Linked DNA regions of Homo sapiens: region 2 is linked to region 1. The links are contacts of gene promoters, found by promoter capture Hi-C in blood cells and fetal thymus (Javierre and others, 2016). All regions are on one chromosome and are shown on one strand. Each heading gives the region's core, a stretch centred on a gene start or on the middle of the fragment in contact. The rest is flanking DNA. Distances are from core to core; before and after follow the strand shown. Region 1 holds the start of NRXN2 (neurexin 2). Region 2 overlaps FERMT3 (FERM domain containing kindlin 3).

Region 1 (2,819 bases), core at 256-2,755:
CCTAATGTCCACCCTCCTCCAAAAGGAACACCCAGACACTGGGAAGGTAGACAACAGGGAAGGATAAGAATGAATGGAAGAGGAGAGACGCCCACCCGCCAACACATGAAAAAACAGGGCTATCTGGAAGCCCCCAGGGCAGCCAAGGGACTGGGGACCCAAGACCCACCCCCTAAAAATCTATTTCATTATTCCAGGTGGACAGCCTCCTCCTTCACCTCCAGACACCAAGAAAAAGCCCCTCCCAGCCCTTGCTAGCTCAATGAGGCATCGAATGCCCTCTCCCAAGATTCAGGAGGGGGGTGAGAGTAAAGGAGACAACAGCACCCCAAAGCCAATTGTGCCCCAAAAGCCCATCAAGGGTTCAAGGGCTCATACCCCAACCCAAAGACCCCAGGGAAGATTGCTGCTTCAGCTGGGGGAGGAGGCTGGGACATGAGAAATGGTCCCTTCCTCTTTAGGGGTGGGGGAGCAAGCCAAGGGCCCTGCAGCTTCCTCTCCCCCTGCAGCACTCTCTGACCAGAACCCTGTCACCGCCCCCAGCGCATTCCCACCCCAGCAAAGCCCCCTCCTACTGATTTCCCAGTCTCCCTGTCTCATCACCCCCAGCCTTCCCCCGCAAGCTTCCGCTCCTCTCCCTCAGACCCCATCTTTCCCAGCTCTCCACCAGCACAGACCCATCTCTGCCTGGAGCACCTTGGCACATTCCCCTCTGCTCTCTCCCAATAACCTCTTCTCCCCTTGGCTCCCATCCCCCAGGAAAGCCTGGTCCTCAGTGGGTCCCCTCAGGACGAAGCCCTTGGCCTGGCCCCTTTCCTTCCCTCTCCACTTCTCTCTCTTCTCCAGCCCCCTCTCCTCTCCTCCCACGAAGCCCAGTTTCTCGCTGGTTAGACCCTCCAGAACACAACAGCTCCTCTGGCCCGGCGCTGCTTCAAGCCTCTGGGGCTAGCACAGACTGGGGACCCCCCTTTAAGAACCCCCTCTAAGTCCTCTGGATGCCCCTCCTCTCTCCATCCCTTCCCCCAAAGACCCTTCCTCCCACCCCTCCCCATTCTCCTCAGCTCTCAGGGCCAGTGCCCCTTCCACAGGAGCCTCCGACCCCCAAGCCCCCAGCGGCTTTGCCTCCTCGCTGTCACCGGGCCAGCCCTCTCAGCGCGGCGCCCCCGCCCCCCAATTCATCCGTCCTGCCTCCCTCGCCCCCTCCGATCCGCTCCCCTCCCCCGATCGGCTCCCGCCCCCCGCCCGTCTCCGCCGCAGCGCCCCCCCCCCCCCATTTTACCTGGTTCTCGGGGCGCCAGAAGCTGGAGGGTGGGTAGCAGAGCTACAGGGCCGCCCCGTCTCCGACGGGTGGCAGAGCCAGGGCTAGCGGTGTCTGCCGCCTCGCGCCTCTCTCCCTCCCCGCCGCGTCCCCGCCCGCCCGCCCGCCCCGCCGCGGTGCCTCTCCGAGGAGGATGCTCCGCGAGTCAGGGCGGCTGCTCCCGCCGCCGCATCCCTGCAACACCGACTGACGGCAGCATCAGCACCAGTGCCCGCCCCCGAGACGCGCGCATTGGACCACGCTGCGCTGACGGGCGAGCAGCGCAGCCAATGCAAGGGCTCAGAAGCCGCCAGTCCAGCGGCTCCACAGGCCCACTCCCTCCCTCGCGCGGGACCCAGGCGTCCCGGCCCCAGCACCCGCGCTCCTCCCAGCCTCTCGAGGTTCTCGGGCGCCCGGGCCCCCAACCAGGCGGGCCCCAAACCCGGCCTCAGTGTCTTTTCCGGGAACCCAAGCACTCTCGCCCCTCGCCCCTCGCCCCTTAGTTCGGGGCCTTGGGTCCCGCACCCTCCCCCCACGGCCAGCAGGTCTTCGCGCAGCGCGGGGCTGGGACAAGCCGAAGGAGAGGCTGTGGACCCCGACTTGGGACGCCGCGAGAGCAGGGCTGATGCGGGGCCTGGGCCGCAGCGCCCTCTGCTGGCTACCCCCAGGGGCGGGCCCGGGCTTCGAGGAGCCTAGAGAAGGGGGACTCGGTGGGTCCATGGCTGCTGGGGGCTTTTTCCAGTCGGTAGCCTGGCCCCCACCTCCCACCGTCCGGAGGGCCCCTGGCTTGGAGCCCCCAGAACTGAAGAGGAAGGGGCTTTGCTGGGATAAAGACGGAGGCGGTGGGGGAAGGAAAGGCAGAGATGGGGGCGGGGTAGACCTAGGAACTTGGGGGTTTCCCAGTCCTGCCTCATGGGAATCCCAGAGTTTGAGGCCAAACTCTCAGTTCTGCCTGGAACCCTGGACCGAGGTACGAGTAGGTGTGGGGGCAGGGTTGCGCCTGCACATGCCTGGTGACTGAGGGCACCTGGCAGCAGCCCCCTTCTCTGTTCTCCTCCTCCCATCCATGAGTTTCAGTTAGAGTGGTGCTGGGGGGCGCAGGTCTCTCCTGTAAGGGTACATGCATCACTGTGCATGTGTATGAGTGTGGGGGACTGGGGGACACCCTTCACTCACTCCGCCAATAAAAGTGTACACACACTGGCACTTAGTGTGTATACCCCGAGGTTGGTCACTGGGCTGCTGAATGAGACAGTGAGAGACAGAGTGTGTGTGTGTATGTGTGCCAGACCATTCTGCCAGCTCACTCCAGGACCCTGGTTTCTGTTGCAGGGTCTGTGATCTGCACAGCTGGTGGTAGTTGGCACTTCCTTAGCCAGAGGCAACATGCAAGAACACTTACATTCAACCACCAATGCATGGACATTGGGGCACTCACAGCCATGCACACATATCTGTGAACACTGGGCATTCCCAGAGACACATAAGAACACCTGCAGAAATGCCCCACCATGGTAACACA
Region 2 (2,854 bases), core at 353-2,852, 510 kb before region 1:
CGCTGCTGGGCACCCCAGGGCAAGTTCCTTTAGCTCTGTGTTCCCTGTGGTGGGGATACTGTCACTCCTAAGCACATCAGCTCTGTCTACTGATGCTCAGCCTGGCCGCCCCGGGCCAGTCCCTGGCCTCCTGGAGCAGCAGCGGGTGAGACTGACCCATGGGGGCTGCGTGCCGGCTGCCGCACAGAGGGCGCTATCATGGGGGCCTGGAGCCAGAGGAGGGGGCTGCCCCGAGCCCAGGATGGGGATAACCCCAGGAGAAGTCCTGAGAGGTGGCCTCAGCAGGGAGGAGCAAGGTGGTGGCGCTGGGACTCGGAGGGCTGTGAATTAGGGCTCTCGGCTGGTGAGGATGCTGGGAGCGTGACCAGAAATGAGGCTGGCTGGTGCCTGGCCAGCTCTGCATGGCCCCGAAGGCCTCCAGAAGGGGTCTAGACTTTCTTCTGGAGGGGAAGGTGGCCACCGAAGGGTTCTCAGCAGGAGGCTGTCCTGCTAAGGTCAGCAGCAAGGCGAAAGGCTGGTGGCGGCAGGCCCCTGAGGAGGCTGTGGTCCTGGTTAGAGACACCAGGGCCTCCTAAGGCCGGGCAGGGAGGATGGAGAGGAGGGTGGATTTTAGAGGTGGGATTGGCATTGATTACATGTGGTGGCTAGAAGAGAAAGGGAGGATGCCTGGGCCTTTGGCGCGAGTCCGTGTCCCCCAGCCCTGAGAGGTGGTGTAGGGAGCTGGTGAGGAGGGGGAGCTGGCTAGGAGAGGGCACCTCTGTGCACAGCGAGTCTGAGCTGAGCTCCAAAAGCCGAGACCAGGAGTCATGGTGCTTACAGTCCCAGTGTCAGCCACTCGGCCACAGGAACAGAGGGTTCTGGAAAGGAGGAAGCCGGTGGACAGGCCCCTCAGCTGGCAGCACATGGGTTTCTGGCTGGGGGCCCAGGGCAGGGTCTGGGCCGAGGGCCACGCATGGGGAGGCAGCAGAAAATGGCAACTGAAACCACAGAATAGGGAGACCCAGTAAGGGGACCTGGCCGAGGCAGGAGAAGAGGGTCCCAGGCCGAACCTGGGGAAAGGACAAGGTAAGGGGCCGGTCAGGAGAGGGACCGGAGAGGGGCCAGAGAGGACAGGAGAAGAGCAAGGAGCCAAGACAAGGGGATGCGGCGGCACACAGCCAGAGTCCCACTGGGGTGCCCAGGAGGGAAGGGCCCAGCCTGGGAGGGGAAGTGCCGGAGGACGAGCGCTTCTCTTGGTTTGGCAGCAGTGGTGATGCCCGGCATGTGCAGCAGTGGGGTTGGGGGCTGGCTGAGGTGGGTGGGATGCAGTGGGAATCAGAAAACTCACCGGGAGGACCTGGGAGGAACTCAGGAAACAGGGCTTTGCAAACTCTCAAGGGCTGTGTGCCCAGAGCAGCTTTCCGGCAGCCTTTTTCCTATGCTCTCTCCCACCTGTTCATGCTCCTGGAGGGAGGAGGCGGGGAGACCTGTGCCTTCCATTACTGTAACTCCAGTTCCCAGCTGGCTGACAAGGGACAGACGCACATCTCTAATTCAATGCTCACTCATGGATCGTCATGTGCGTGCACAAGTTTGCTGCAAACCCTGCAGCTACCACATGGGAGGCCTTGTTCCGTGTCCCAGTTTGTAAGATCGTTATTGTATCTTACAGGGAAACTGAGGCCCAGTGAGGTTAAGTGGCTTGTCCAAGGTCACACAGCTAATAGCTAAAAATATTGAGTGCTCACTGCTCCAGGCCAGGCACAGGTCCAGGCCCTGAGGACATACAACGGTGAGACAGACGTAGTCTCTGCCTCCAGGAGCTCCCCAGAATGCAAGACAGAGGCTGTTAAACCGTGGATTATGGGAGGACAGAGGGGGCGTCATGTGGAGGGAGCCCAGTGGGCTGGAATGCAAGAGATGGGGCGCTAAGATTGGGGCACTCAGATGCTGGGTTGGAGAGCTCCCCTGGGAAGCGATATAGAAGCCAAGCCTAGAAGGCCAAATCAGGGGCTGCCTGCAGAGAGCCCTGCTGCTGTTACCATGGGGTAGACCCCAGGCCCGCCCAGGCTGCCCCACTCTTGGCTTAGGCAGGGCAGGGGAGTGGTCGCCCCAGGCTTCTGAATCCTGGGGTTGTGCTGGGTGTTGGGGGCACCAGGGAGGAAGGTTGGACCCAGATGTGCCCCCGTGCCCCACAGATCGCAAGCAGGACTGGTCAGACCATGCTATTTGGTGGGAACAGAAGAGGCAGTGGCTGCTGCAGACCCACTGGACACTGGACAAGTACGGGATCCTGGCCGACGCACGCCTCTTCTTTGGGCCCCAGCACCGGCCCGTCATCCTTCGGTTGCCCAACCGCCGCGCACTGCGCCTCCGTGCCAGCTTCTCCCAGCCCCTCTTCCAGGCTGTGGCTGCCATCTGCCGCCTCCTCAGTAAGTTGCCCGGCTGATTCCCCTGGCCCACGAGGGTGATGCAAAGAGGCAGGTTCCCCCGTTTCCAGGCCCAGCTCTGTTGACGCTGTCCTTGCTGTCTGGGTTGCCACCCTGCCTGCAGGGCTGTGACCCGCCCCAAGCACCCATGGGTGAGGTGGGGAGGCTGCAGCAGGACCTAGTCCCCGCTGAGACCCTAGCTCCCCTCAGGCATCCGGCACCCCGAGGAGCTGTCCCTGCTCCGGGCTCCTGAGAAGAAGGAGAAGAAGAAGAAAGAGAAGGAGCCAGAGGAAGAGCTCTATGACTTGAGCAAGGTTGTCTTGGCTGGGGGTGAGTGCAAGTGGGGGTGGGCCTGGGGGGTTGGGGGCAGGGGCCGGCCCGTGAGTCCCAGCCCTGGGGGACAGGCCTGGTTGACTCCCAACCTGCACTCCAGGCGTGGCACCTGC

Evidence for each region. Contacts are between HindIII fragments. The CHiCAGO score rates a contact against its expected background, and 5 or more counts as called.
Region 2: a fragment that was not itself captured here is called in contact with the fragment with the promoter of NRXN2 in region 1 in 1 of 17 cell types (naive B cells); the score reaches 5.1 in naive B cells.

Annotation. Positions count from the first base shown.
Region 1 is chr11:64,721,692-64,724,510 of GRCh38, forward strand. NRXN2 (neurexin 2) reads right to left here and starts at 1,506. Exons shown (of 23, transcript NM_015080.4): 1 at 1,280-1,506. RefSeq lists silencers at 1,386-1,680, 1,667-1,966 and an enhancer at 2,347-2,396. The HindIII fragment of the contact is 9,459 bases long and covers 622-2,819 here.
Region 2 is chr11:64,208,434-64,211,287 of GRCh38, forward strand. FERMT3 (FERM domain containing kindlin 3) reads left to right here. Exons shown (of 15, transcript NM_031471.6): 3 at 2,178-2,411; 4 at 2,619-2,738; 5 at 2,842-2,854. Among named protein-coding and RNA genes, the nearest start is that of FERMT3, 3.1 kb to the left of the region's middle. RefSeq lists an enhancer at 57-136. The HindIII fragment of the contact is 4,283 bases long and covers 1-2,854 here.